Regions from separate parts of the Homo sapiens genome. Here regions 1, 2, 3 and 4 are each linked to region 5. Evidence: promoter capture Hi-C in human tissues and cell types (Jung and others, 2019). All regions are on one chromosome and are shown on one strand. Each heading gives the region's core, a stretch centred on a gene start or on the middle of the fragment in contact. The rest is flanking DNA. Distances are from core to core; before and after follow the strand shown.

What was found. The method cuts DNA at HindIII sites, captures the fragments that hold promoters and counts their contacts. A contact is called where the count stands out against the background at its distance.
Region 1: a contact is called between a fragment that was not itself captured here and the fragment with the promoter of IDH2 in region 5, in 2 of the 25 tissues and cell types used here (aorta and neural progenitor cells).
Region 2: a contact is called between a fragment that was not itself captured here and the fragment with the promoter of IDH2 in region 5, in 1 of the 25 tissues and cell types used here (bladder).
Region 3: a fragment that was not itself captured here is called in contact with the fragment with the promoter of IDH2 in region 5 in 2 of the 25 tissues and cell types used here (mesendoderm cells and thymus).
Region 4: a contact is called between a fragment that was not itself captured here and the fragment with the promoter of IDH2 in region 5, in 1 of the 25 tissues and cell types used here (H1 embryonic stem cells).

The regions. Positions count from the first base shown.
Region 1 is chr15:90,459,113-90,461,812 of GRCh38, reverse strand. All of the region lies in intron 15 of IQGAP1 (IQ motif containing GTPase activating protein 1), which reads right to left. Among named protein-coding and RNA genes, the nearest start is that of CRTC3, 69 kb to the left of the region's middle. The HindIII fragment of the contact is 7,780 bases long and covers 1-2,700 here.
Region 2 is chr15:90,599,837-90,602,536 of GRCh38, reverse strand. CRTC3 (CREB regulated transcription coactivator 3) reads right to left here. Exons shown (of 15, transcript NM_022769.5): 4 at 152-213. It overlaps LOC124903554 (a long non-coding RNA gene), which reads right to left. Exons shown (of 2, transcript XR_007064756.1): 2 at 1,732-2,229. Among named protein-coding and RNA genes, the nearest start is that of LINC01585, 59 kb to the left of the region's middle. The HindIII fragment of the contact is 8,040 bases long and covers 1-2,700 here.
Region 3 is chr15:89,728,635-89,731,334 of GRCh38, reverse strand. It overlaps WDR93 (WD repeat domain 93), which reads right to left. Exons shown (of 17, transcript NM_020212.2): 10 at 2,242-2,312; 11 at 1,566-1,652. Among named protein-coding and RNA genes, the nearest start is that of MESP1, 21 kb to the left of the region's middle. The HindIII fragment of the contact is 4,492 bases long and covers 1-2,700 here.
Region 4 is chr15:90,381,536-90,384,349 of GRCh38, reverse strand. No RefSeq gene overlaps it. Among named protein-coding and RNA genes, the nearest start is that of IQGAP1, 5.3 kb to the left of the region's middle. The HindIII fragment of the contact is 4,681 bases long and covers 1-2,814 here.
Region 5 is chr15:90,101,102-90,103,801 of GRCh38, reverse strand. It overlaps IDH2 (isocitrate dehydrogenase (NADP(+)) 2), which reads left to right and starts at 1,334. Exons shown (of 11, transcript NM_002168.4): 1 at 1,334-1,526. The coding sequence starts at 1,412. IDH2-DT (IDH2 divergent transcript) reads right to left here and starts at 1,670. Exons shown (of 3, transcript NR_149130.1): 1 at 1,424-1,670; 2 at 350-422. RefSeq lists silencers at 1,124-1,583, 1,904-1,973, 2,464-2,553, 2,614-2,663 and enhancers at 1,198-2,052, 2,053-2,700. The HindIII fragment of the contact is 13,716 bases long and covers 1-2,700 here.

The DNA.
Region 1 (2,700 bases), core at 186-2,685, 360 kb before region 5:
CGCTGTCACCCAGGCTGGAGTGCAGTGGTATGATCTCAGCTTACTGCAACCTCCTACTCCCGGGTTCAAGCAATCCTCCTGCCTCAGCCTCCTGAGTAGCTGGGACTACAGGGGTGTACACCACACCTGTATTTTTAGTAGAGATGGAGTTTCGCCATGTCAGCCAGGCTGGTCTCAAACTCCTGACCTCAAGTGATCCGCCTGCCTTGACCTCCCAAAGTGCCGGGATTATAGGCGTAAGCCACCACACACGGCCTAAGTCATTCATATTCTTAATTATAAAATGAGTTCTTGAGGAGCCCTGATATCCATGTCTTGCATTCAGACTGTACTACTCACGACTAGTAATCCACTTTTATCAAGAGTCCCACAAACACTAAATTTAATGAAGAGAAACGTGACATTAGTGAAAATGGTAAAGACCTCTGAAAATCCTCTCCACCATGAAAAACAAACAAACAAAAAACATTGGTACACTGGCAAACAATCACCAGCATCAGTTTTTCTTTTTTTGAGACGGAGTTTCACTCTTGTCACCCAAGCTGGAGTGCAGTGGTGCTCATTGCAACCTCCACCTCCTGGGTTCAAGTGATTCTCCTGCCTCAGCCTCCTGGGTAGCTGCGATTACAGGTGCCTGCCACCACGCCTGGCTAATTTTTTGTATTTTTAGTAGAGATGGAGTTTCACCATGTTGGCCAGGCTGGTCTCGAACTCCTGACCACAGGTGATCTGCCCACCTGGGACTCCCAAAGTGCTGGGATTACAGGGATGAGGCACTGCGCCCAGCCCTTTTTTTTTTTTTTTTTTTTTTTTAAAGACAGGGTCTTGCTTTGTCACTCAGGCTGGAGTGCAGTGGTGCAATCTTGGCTCACCGCAACCTCAGCCCCCTAGGCCCAAGTGATCCTTCCATCTCAACCTCCCAAGTGCCTGGGACCACAGGTGCACACCACCGTGTCCAGCTAATATTTTTATTTTTCGTTAAGACAGGGTTTTACCATCTTGCCCAGCCTGGTCTCAAATTCCTGGGCTCAAACTATCCACCCGCCTTGGCATCCCAACGTGCTGGGATTACAAGCATGAGCCACTGCACCCGGCCAGTTTTTTCAATACGGTAGAAATTAACCAAAGGCTTGCAGAAATTGGAGAATGCATTCAAGAAAAACAGCTGAAACTCAGTAAGAACAGTGAGTTCTGTGGTGCTTTAAACTCCCCTATTCCAATCTGCCCCTCCTACCATCCCTTCAAAGCCCCATTCCCAAAGAACTGTCATTAGCTGACCTGTTCAGAGGTCACACTCGCATGGCTGTCTTTATTTGACCTGACCAAGAGCTCATCCACTGCAAACAGCCTTTTCTCCAAAAGCAATTGTCAAAAACATTAAGGATAACAGTTTAGGCAAACAAGAGACTAACTAAAAACCTTATAAGGAAAAGCTGGAGAATGAGATGTTCATGGAGAGCTCTGACAACTTGACATATTCCTGGATGGGATCTAGGAGGCCACAGTGCATGTGTGGGCTGTGCACATGCTCAGAAAAGATCTGATAAAGCTCTTGTTTAGCATATCATCATGAAATATAAAATGGGCAACCAGCGGCCCTCAGGGCTGCTCTGTCTATGGAGAAGCCATTCTTTTATTCCTTTACTTTCTTAATAAACTTGCTTCCACTTCACTCTATGGACTCTCTCTGAATTCTTTCTTGTGTGAGATCCAAGAACCATCTCTTGGGGTCTGCATCGGGACCCCTTTCCTACACAGTACTGCAGCTCAAAACAAAACAAAAAATATCCCCCACACAAAAAACTCCGGACCACGTGGCCTCACTGGTGACTTGTAACAAATGTTTAAAGAACTAGCTAATCCTTTACAAACTCTTTGAAAATATAAAAGGAACACTTCAAGTCATGAGGCCAGTATTACCCTGATACCAAAACCAAACACAAAGATATCAGAAGAAAATAAAACTACAGACCAAATTTAAATTAAGATCTTTTGCTCTCTAAATTTGTAACTCAGTGATAAATATTTTTAAAAACACTCCCAAATGGCTGATGGAGACTTAGATGCTCAGGTGATGCCAAAAACAAAAAACAAAACAAAACAAAACAAAAAACCCAAACCAAAAACAAACAAACAAAAAACAATTCCACCCAATGTGTAGTTCACCCAGCTGGGCCTGGCAATGTTAAGCAATTTTTCCTTTAACTCCCCCGACTTCCTCCGCCTTTGATGAAGTCTGAAAAGTTATTCCACAGCAAAGGAAATGCTTCAAACTCTATAGTCACATCCTCAAAAAGTTTTACTCCGATGACCCAAACAAAACGCACACACAGCCTTTTGAATTATTTACACTTTATCTATTCCTGACTTGATAGACATACTGTTTTTTTCCACTGTGGCTATCAGGAATAATGCTACTATGAAGATAAAGTTGTTAAAGTAATTGTAACATAAACTCATCTTTTAAAATGTTTGTCTTACCCGCTACCTAGTTTGCTGAGGAAATTGACAAGGTTTATGCCTCTTTTTATGCTGTTGCTGTCTAGGAAGTTGCCTTGTATGTAGTAGGCCCTCAAATAATTGTTGATTAAAGCATAATTAACATCTGTTTTCTAATTGTGATTGACCTCCTTTTCAGTGCTTACTAAGTAACAACAACTGGATAGAACCATAGCCTTCAGAAGACTCCTGAAGTGAGGC
Region 2 (2,700 bases), core at 175-2,674, 500 kb before region 5:
GTGATCCTCCCACTGAAATTAAATGTTATAAGAGAAAACAGGATTCTATGCTTTATATTAGAAATTTCTAAACAACATTCAAAGTGGATAAAGTGAAATTATCTAAAAATAACACATGCCCATCATATCTTTTAAAGTATGTCTTGCTTACCTTGGCCAACTCTCATCCAGAGGCTGTGAGGAATAATTGGCTCCAAAAGCACTACCATCAAAGTAGAATTTTTAATAAAGGAAAAATAAAAATTAATGGAAAGATGAAGCAGAATTAACAAGGTGGACTCACAGAGAGTTAAACAACTGAGTTTTTGGTTCCTTATCCCTGTACCTGACAGCTCTTCCTTCATGCTTTCTCTTATCTCCCTCCTTGAGGACAAGTCTATTCTGCTGTCTTCTAACCGGTGTTTTCTTTGCATGATTTTTTGTGGGGTGTTTATTATTTTTTGCCTGTCCGGCAACTTTTGTTTTCAGGAACTGTCTCCACTCTTGCTCCAAACCTGGTAACACTGCCATTCCCTCTGTGCCACATGTGAGGGACCCAGGCCCAGGATTCTAGTCTAGGTACCTCACCCCCTGGAAACAGTGTTTGGCTCAGGGATCGGCTCACGACGCAAACAGAACCAAGGAGAGTGCTTTTGAGTGGAAAAAAAAGGAGTGCCCCAATAGGGCTGGTAAGCCCAAGGGCCGTCTGAACCTGGGGGTCTTCACCTTGGAGAAAGCCTGTCTGTTATGCCTGAAGTCATCTCAGAAGTGGTACCACAGAGGTAGGTCTCAATGACATTGTATGACCCCTTGGATCTAGCCCTTGGGCTTCCAGTGACATATGCCAATACATTTTCTTTTTTTAAGTTAAGGTGGGTTCCTGGTACTTATTTATTTTTTGAGACGGAGTTTCACTCTTTTTTTTGGCCCAGGCTGGAGTGCAATGGCGCAATCTCGGCTCACTGCAACCTCCACCTCCCAGGTTCAAGCAATTCTCCTGCCTCAGCCTCCCGAGTAGCTGGGATTACAGGCATGCGCCACCACACCCGGCTAATTTTGTATTTTTTTTAATTAGAGACAGGGTTTCTCCACGTTGGCCAGGCTGGTCTTGAACTCCTGACCTCAGGTGATCCACCCACCTCGGCCTCCCAAATTGCTGGGATTAGAGGTGTGAGCCACTGCGCCCGGCGGTTCCTGGTATTTATAACCAAAAAAGAGGCGCATTAGATGTGTGAAGAAAGGTAAACTTTCCAGTGTTGTTGGGGGCACTGTCTTATCAGTCTTGTGTTGTTCACTGGGTCTACCATGCCTTGGAGCATATTCTGGACGCACGGAGACACAAATGGGATGCTGCACTACACACCGAGCAGAGGGGCGCTGTTTTCATTCGTTTAGTTAATTGTTCCCACACAATAGCCTTCTGAAGACACTGTTAATCATATTATTCTGCTAAGAAATCTTCAATGATTTTGTTCAGCCTAAAAGGCAAAATCAAAACTTACTGGCTTAGTAATTGCGGTGATCCACAATTTGGGGACAATGGTCTCTTCTGCTCTTGTCTTCCCTCCAGCTTTCTGAGTTCCACAAACACAGCCTGTATTTTCCTGCCCCTCTGCCTTTGCTAAGGCCATTTCCCCTTTCTCACCTCCTATGTGGAAGGTTGCCTCCTTATCACTCACCCAAACCAAGCCCATTCCTTTTGTCTCCTGGATCACTGATTGGATTAAATATACATTCGGCAGTTACCAATAATACTTTTCATCCCAAACTTTTATTTCTTAAGGTGGAAATAATAAAGAAGATACAAACTACACATTAAGACAGAAATTTGAAAACAGATATCTAAGCACCTACTGTGTGCCAGGCCTGTGCTGAGTTCACACTTTATTTAACCTCAATCCTGAGAGGCAGATATTTTCCCCATTTTATAGCTGAAGAAACTGAGGCTCAGTTCTAGAAGAGCTGAGAAATCCAAGATCAGATAGCACGCCTGGTGGATCAGGGGTCAGACCCACAAATCACTGACACCAAAGCCTGAGAGCTCTCCGCTAAGCTATGCTGCCTCTCAGGAAACAGTGAACTATGCCAAATGCCCCCAGAAAATAGAAAATAGTACCTGGAGTGTTCTGGGAAGGATGGAGGCTATAAGAGAAGGTACCATCTGCTCGGGCTCAGGAGGAAACAGGAGCCTTGATGGAGTGGGGCCCTATCCTGCAGGCCTGGGCTGGGCAGCTCAAATAAATACAGAATCTGGAATTAGGAAAACGGAGGCTCTCATGAGTTCTTAGTGATTTGGTGGGAAATGTCTTCTTTGCCAGGAGAGGCATTAGGATTGCAAGTTTCATCTTCTATGTATTCGTTTTCTTTGACAAGTCTCATTATCTTATTTCTTAATTTGACCTTAAATCAATAAAATAAAACAGATAATTTCCAAAGAGAGACATTTCTTCAACATTCACTATTAGGCTTAAGGTACATGAAGTACAGATGAGGCAAGACCACAGTAGGAGGTAGGAGAGGAAAAGGTGATAAATAGTAAGGCCCGTGACAGACAAAACCTGTCAGTATTTCTGTTGGCAAAGCCATTAGGGAGGAAACACCGAGCCTCAGAACCTACGGTTATCTGCCTTTCTCTTTTCTGCAGATTTGATGAATCTCTGTTCAGAAACGCTTAATTTCAGGAAGTAGAAGTTTACCATTTTTCTCAGTACACTGCCATCT
Region 3 (2,700 bases), core at 61-2,560, 370 kb after region 5:
AACCAGGAGCACCTGTCTGGACTCACCATCATCCTTCTCTTTATGAAGTGCTATTCTCCTTGCCTAGGATGATAAGATAATGTCACACTGTTTATTATTACTCTACAGCTAATGTTTAATGAGTATGTCCTAGGTGCTAGATACTGTGTTAGGCACTTTACACACATAATTTCATTGCATTCTCACAAGGGTTCTATAAAGTAGTCTTATTAGTATCCCCATTTTATAGATGAGGCAGAGAAGTGACTTGCTCAAGGCCATACAGTCAGTATAGAAGGAGATTAGAAGCCAGGTTGCCTGGGAAAGGGACGGAAGAAAAGAAACTCCTCCTTTGTGAATTTTTTAATGTTACTTTTGAAGTGTAATATAAAGTATAACAAGTGTACAGTTCAAGGAATTATCACAAAGCAAACTTGCTCATGTGACTGCTTCCATTAATTTTTTTTTTTTTGAGACAGGGCCTCACTGTCACCCAGGCTGGAGTGCAGTGGTGCAACCTTGGCTCACTGCAGCCTCAAACTCCTGGGCTCAAGTGATCCTCCTGGCCCAGCCTCCTGAGTAGTTGGGACTACAGGCTCATGCTGCCACGCTTGGCTATTTTTTGTAGAAACAGGGTCTCCTATGTTGCCCAGACTGGTTTCAAACTCCTGGGCTCAAGAGATCCACCTGCCTCTGCCTCCCAAAGTACTGGGATTACAGGCATGAGCCACCACACCTGGTCACCTCCATAAATTTGTAAAACAACAACAACCTATATTTCCTTAGTGCGTTTCAATTTCGAAGAGCTTCACATACAGAAACTCTCTGGATTTTGCTATTTTCAACAAACGCATGCACTAGACAACAATGGTGTAATTAATTAGCTCTATGTTCTGCATGAAAAGTGGGTTGGGGTGTGAAGCGACTGGCCTGAGACTACATGGTTTGCAGACAGCTGGGCTAGGATTAGCACTGACCTTCTGATTCCAAGCCTACTTTCTCAATCTCTCTCTTTTTTTTTTTTTTTTTTTTTGAGATAGTCTTGCTCTGTCACCCAGGCTGGAGTGCAGTGGTGTGATCTTGGCTCACTGCAACCTCTGCCTCCCAGGTTCATGTGATTCTCCTGCCTCAGACTCCCAAGTAGCTGAGATTACAGGCGCATGCCACCATATCCGGCTAATTTTTGTATTTTTAGTAGAGATGGGGTTTCACCATGTTGGCCAGGCTGGTCTTGAACTCCTGACCTCAGGTGATCCACTCGCCTCGGCCTCCCAAAGTGCTGGGATTATAGGCGTGAGCCATTGCGCCCAGCCAAGCTTACTCTCTTTTTACCTTAGCTGCTTAAGGAGCCCTGTGGACCTGACTGTAGACTTTGTCCCTATTGACCTGTTGTCTTTAAGGAACATGACATTTCAGAGACAGATTCTTGCGGTCACACTACACCCACCAAACCCCCTACTGCCTGCCTAGATCTGGTCCCTAAAGTGACACTTGATGTATGTCAGTCACATGCTCTTAGCTAAGCTGGAGAAGGACATGTCTGCAAGTCCTGAGCTTAGGCGACTCCCATCTCAGCAGTAAAGTACCAGCTTTATCCTTTAGAGTTCGGTTTAGTGAATACAGGAAGAAATTGTGACTTCTGGTCCAGTGTATACCAAGGACACAGGCCATTCCTGGTGGGGGGGCGGGGGAAAGACAGAAAATGGGTGTTACACAGGGGGAAATCTGGGTGGCCTTTGGTTTGCACAGAAGGTGTTTGCCCAAGAGAAGCTGGTTTGAAGTCTGAAGTGGTTTGTTTTAATGGGCAGCACCCAAGAGAAGGGTGAGTTTCCCAAGAGAGAGGGACTGGGCAGCCCCATGAGGGCTGTTCCTGGGGCCCACCCGCCTTCTTGCATAGGGAGGACAGTCTCAACTCCCCCTCGGCTGCTTTCACATCTAGAAAATTCACACCCTCAGTGTTTTAAGTAACATCTTCTACAAGACAAACTCATATCCAGAAGCAGCCCGGTGGATGTGGGCTCATGCCTTCTCCTATGGCAACCACTCCCTGAAGGCAGTGCCAGCCTTTGTGATCAGAGAACCTGTGCTCAGGGGCCACAGATGCAAGCAGAAACTGACAGGCTACAGCTGGCAACCAAACTCCCCTCTTCATTCCCTCCTACCATGCGAGGTTTGTTGGGGAACATCTCTGTGGGGGCTTGCTGAGGGGTTTCCCCAAGGTGACTCCTTGCTAGGACAACCACCCACTTCATGTTCATTTACCTGAGGGGCCCTTGACTTCCGGTGGCATTGCAAATAGGCAGCTAGGAAGAAGGAAATAGAAGGTGGCCGTACTGGGAAAGAAAGACACACGAGTCAGAGCCATGTAGACTCCCTGGCAAGGAGAGCTGCTGGCAGAGTCTTGGTCCTAAAACCAGAATAGATAGTTAGAATGGACCTTCCCAGGGGTAAGAAGGCCATGAAGCACATCACATTCTAGGTGCTGGTCCTGGTGGGATGCGCTGACCTTGGATGCTGGTGAGGGCAGGTTGGGTGGGGCTGGGAATCACTCCTAGGCCAGTGTGGTGTGCAGAGCTCTTGCCAGAGACAGCTGTCTTTTGGAGAGCCACTTCTGTTTTGGGGAAGATGTCCTTAAAGAGCAGACTCGGGTGATCTACATAGATGTTCTCTTATCCCAGGGGCAATACAGCCAGTGTTGTGCTGATAACTGGGTCTCTTAAA
Region 4 (2,814 bases), core at 201-2,700, 280 kb before region 5:
AAAACTTAGTAATTCCTATAAATAAACATACAAGCATAACAAAGCTAACATTCTCTTAGATGGCCTGATTCCATGTGTAAACTTAGTAAGCTTTCAACTCAAAAACCTAAGTCTAAAACTAACTCAATTACACATTTAAAATGATTTACAAAAAAGCTGTCATTCAAGTCGGCCAAATTTTCTTAAACATTGCGAATACATAAAATGTGAAATATTTCTTCTTCTTCTTCTTTTTTTTTTTTTTTTTTTGAGACAGAGTTTCACTCTGTCACCCAGGCTGGAGTGCAGTGGCGTGATTTCGGCTCACTGCAACCTCAGCCTCCCAAGTTCAAGTGATTATCCTGCCTCAGCCTCCTGAGTAGCTGGGCTTACAGGCGCACACGACCACACCCGGCTAATTTTTGTATTTTTACTGGAGGTGAGGTTTTGCCATGTTGGCCAGGCTGGTCTCGAACTCTTGACCTCAAGTGATCTGCCCACCTTGGCCTCCCAATGTGCTGGGGTTATAGGCATGAGCCACCATGCCCAGCCGAAATATTTCTTCTTAACTCCAACATATTAATCCAATTGTTCATTCCATAAAGGCTTTCTTTACTTAATTACAAAGTTTGTCTGAGGTGAAAGCCACAGAGATGTTAAGTTACCAACTGCACTGGTACCTTACTATACTAAGTGTTGCACATTTATTTTCTCAGCTGATCCTTGTAATAATCCCATTATGTCCATTTTACACTTGGGAAAATGGAGAACTGGGTTACTTACCTGAAGCCACACAGCAAGAGGCAGAGCTGGAACTCAAACCCAGGCCTGTCTAATGACAAAGCCCAATTCCTAGTCAATAAACTCAAGATTCAGAGAAATAGACATTAAGATAATAACATGCTGGCCAGGCACAACGGCTCACACCTATACCCCCCAGCACTTTGGGAAGCAGAGGAGAGAGGATTGCTTGAGGCCAGGAGTTCAAGACCAGCCTGGGCAAAATGAAAAACCCCGTCTCTACAGAAAATACAAAAAATTAGCCCAGCGTGGTGGCATGCTACCCAAAAGGCTGAGGTGGGAGGATCGCTTGAGCCTGGGAGTTGAGGCTGCAGTGAGCTGTGATCCCGCCACTGTGCTCCTGCCCAGGTAGACAGAGTGAGACCCATCACCAAAAAAAAAAAAAATAGAAAAGATAACATGCCACATATCACTTCTTGCCTATCATATGTAGCAACATTTTGGTTTGTCTTTTTAATTGATATTATTGGCAAGGGGGTGAAAAAGCAACCACTCTTATGCAATGTTAGTAGGCAATAAATTAATATAGTCTTTCTAAAGACCAGCTTATCATTATGCATCTATTCTTCAACCAAAAAACTTCACTTCTTGGAATGTATCATAAGGATATCGTGCTTTTATTAAATGTGCAAAAGTTATCCATGAAGATGCTCCTTGGAAATTACTCAAATGTCCATCAGTAGGTGTTTAAATCAGTGATGGCAGCTATACACAATAGAATGCCATATAGCCATGAACAGTGATGATCTGTGGTCTGGTCAGGCTTGACTGGCTACAGGAAACAGACATGCACAGTTTTACTTCTAGAGGAAAAAAGGCTGGAAGGGAGGCCTTTCTTATACAGACCTATATGGACTGGAACTGCACCAAAAACAAAACTACACTAAACAAAAAAAAACAGGACTAATGAAAGCTTGAAGTCATGGTTTCATTCTCTGGGCATCTCTGCTTTTCCACAGGCTGGCTCTACTCTCCACTCTTTGCTAACCAGCTTACTCCATTTAATTTTTTCTGTTCCCTCACAACTCTTGTTTCTGCTTGCCTTGCCATGGCTTTGACTGAAGGTCATGGTATCCTTACATCATCAGCTCCATTGAGGATCATCTCAATTGCCTAACTCCATAACCCATAGAGTGGCATATGATTGACCCAGCTCAGCTTTCCACCCTGTGGGTAAATCTCTGACCACCCACAGGCAGGCTGCCCTTAGATTGGATGCTGATCCTTTACTTCAATCAACTATGATCAGGAGATACAGATAATTAAGCATAGAGAACTATGAGCTGGGCATAATTTCCTTCAGTGGGAGGCTGGGCAGGCAAAAAATGTACAGGCTGGCAGTACAATATTTTAATATTGTGGTTAAGTTAATATATCAAATTATGACTAATAAATATGATACCATTTTGTTTTAAATGTAGCTAGATAGATAGATACATTGATGGATATGTGCATATGAATAGATAAAGCCTTGAAGTATATACACCAATATATTAACAGTGGCTTCTCCAGGCAGTGCTATTACACTGGATTTGTGTGGGGTTTGCTTGCTTGCTTGTCTGTATTTAAAATGAGCTGCTGGAAATACTATTTTGTCAGCAAATATAAATATGAATAAAATTAGTAAATATGAAATGAATAAACGGCAAAATAATGAGGTAAATGGTCATTTTGGGAGTCAAAATTGGTTAATGACCACAAAGAATTTACAAGCCAGGAGGAGTCAAGCAATATTAACAGGATATCTTGAGATAAGCACCATAATAGAAGTTTCCCTTGCTTGGAATACCTTTTAGCCTATTATCTGCCTGGGAAACTCCTACTGAACCTCCCAGACCCAATTCAAATGTCACCTACTCCCCAGGCAAAATTAATCACTTCCTCATTTATTATATTTCCCAGTAGTACTTTTAGAAACCAGGTATCTTCAGAAATAAGTCTTACTGTCTAGTAAGTACAACATTTTCAAGAAATAAGTCCCAATTTTTTTTATATTTAAATGCCTCTGAAATCAGGATAGGTCTTACAATCAGT
Region 5 (2,700 bases), core at 85-2,584:
CCCCATCTCTATTTTTAATTAAAACAAACAAACAAACCCATCTTTTATATGCAAACAGGCAAAAATGGAACTGTTTCTACTGTGGCTGTTTGACTACTCTAGGGTCTCAGAAAACAACACCCCAAAATGCAGGCCTCAGGAGCAGCTCTCTCTGACCCTCTCCCTCCCTCCTGTCTTTGGCCCCTCACTCTCCTCCGAGGCCAGCCATAGAAACTGGAATCCTTCTTCCTCAAGGCAGGTCATAGAAACCAGAGCCCTTCTCCCCCAAAGCCAGACATCGAACCCAAAAATATTACTCTTTCTCCCACACATTTCTGGGTAAAAACTGGCCATAAATTATCTGACCTACCTTGTTTGCTTGCAGGTCCTAAGACCCCTCCATCCCAGAGAGAGTCCTGCCCCGTACTCAGAAGGAAGGAATGCTGCAGAGAAAGGTCAAGAAGAATCTACACGGACAGGACTTGCTGGGTTTCCCCACTCAGGTTATTGGCCTTCTGGTCCAATCATATTTCTTTTTTCGTGGTTTTTTTTTTTTTTTTTTGAGACGGAGTCTCACTCTGTTGCCCAGGCTGGAGTGCAGTGGCATGATCTCAGCTCACTGCAATCTCTGCCTCTCAGGTTCAAGTGATTCTCCCGCCTCAGCCTCCTGAGTAGCTGGGATTACAGGCGCGCGCCACCATGCCCGATCAATTTTTGTATTTTTAGTAGAGACAGGGGTTTCATTATGTTAGCCAGCCTGGTCTCGAACTCCTGACTTCAAGTGATCCGCCTGCCTCGACCTCCCAAAAGTTCTAGGATTACAGACGTGAGCCACCGCGCCCGGCCCAAAGTGAGATTTCAACTCTCTCTACACCAGCTGGACCTGACAGCGGACTCGCGGAGGCGCAGACGCCGCCGGCGGTCTTAGCTCAAGAATGAAGCAGCCGCACTGGGCTAATGCGCCTTTGGGTTCAGCCCGGCAGGCGAGGGAAGCAAGAGTTCGCTCAGATTGGCTTTTGGGTTTAAGCTAAAGCGTCAGAAACTGACATCCAGGTTTACATGGGGCATCCTGGAGAGGGTCAGCCTCGCAAGCGGCTCTGCTAATCCCCCAGCCCTGATCCCGCTCGCGGGTCCCGGTGGGTCTCACGCCTGTAGCTCCTGCGGAGCTGGGCTTTCAGCGGCGCCCAGAGAAGCACCAGCCGGGCCTGGCCGCCGGGTCCCGGCTCCCGCGGGACGCTGGAGGCGTCGGCGGCCCTGGCCCCGCCTCCTCCCCGGCAAGGCCCAATGGGGCGGCAGGCCCGGCAGCCCCGCCCCGGTGGTGCCCGCGCGGCCAGCGCCCGCCAGGCCCAGCGTTAGCCCGCGGCCAGGCAGCCGGGAGGAGCGGCGCGCGCTCGGACCTCTCCCGCCCTGCTCGTTCGCTCTCCAGCTTGGGATGGCCGGCTACCTGCGGGTCGTGCGCTCGCTCTGCAGAGCCTCAGGCTCGCGGCCGGCCTGGGCGCCGGCGGCCCTGACAGCCCCCACCTCGCAAGAGCAGCCGCGGCGCCACTGTGAGTGCCGCGCGGAGGGTCCAGGCAGGCGCGCGCCCCCAGCTGCGACGTGGCGGCTTCCCAGGCTGGGGCCGGGAAGCACGTCCCGCCAGCCCGCAGCCCGGGGACGGCGGGGTCAGGCGCACAAAGGGCCGCGGGGCAGCTTCGCTCCGCGCTCCCCCGCCCGGCGCTTCCCGGCCGTGCCAGGCGCTGGGGTGGGGACTTGAGGGACGGTGGCAACTGGTGGCCCGGGCGACGGCCAGCTCTGCGCGGGCGGGGGCTCGGGGCTGCCGCGCGCCCCTAGGTATTTCGGGAGGGGGTCCTGAGAGTGTCCCGGACCCGAAGGGTGGCCTGCCCGCCCTGCGCCCCTGGAACGAGACGAGCACCCGTGGGGGGCTGGAGCACCCCGCGCGCTCCCCTGGCGAGAGGGAGGGTCGTGGCTCGGCCCCTGCTCAGACAAAGGCTGGGAGGCGGGAGACATGCACTTCCCCTTCCTTTTCAGCCAGGCGCGCGCTGATACCAGGCCCACGTCAGCTATTTTTGGAGCCTTTTACACGACAGCTGGAGGAGCGTCCTTTTTAATTTTCCCCTTTTGTTTGGCCGCCCCCACCCCCACCCCTTCGCCTTCATCGCTGCACTTGAGGCTCCATCCTGGGGCCTCTCCTTGACTTGACCTGCCTTGGCAGGCACATGCCCTCCCTGCCTGGCTCACTCGCCGCAGAGACCTGGCAGCCCGCGCAAAATGTCACTTTGCGGAATCGTTCCCACGGCTTCTGGGTACCCTTAGTTCCCTGCTTAGGAGGGAAGACAGTAGTCGGGTCGTAATAAGCAAGACTTAGCCCGAGCCTCCGTTGCCAACGCAGGCTGCCTTGCTTGGCGTGTGGGCATCGGCCTGCCCCCTCACCCTGGCTACCCAACACAGCTACAAAAGGCAGGGAACAATGTAGGTCCCTTGGCCCTGCCTAATGCCTGTTGCCATGGAAACCCCTATCCTAATCTGGCCAGGAGCCCCTTGCAGTGAGCCAGGAGAGTGAGGAAGAGGGGATGGGGCCCGCTGGCCCTGACCTGGCCAGAGGAGGTAATGGTTAACCGGATTGTGGGAGCAGCTGACTAGAGCCGGGGGGGTAGGGAGGCTTGGGCCCCAGTCCTACCTTCCCTGCCAAGGAGAAAGGGGCATGTCTGCTTTTGTACCTCT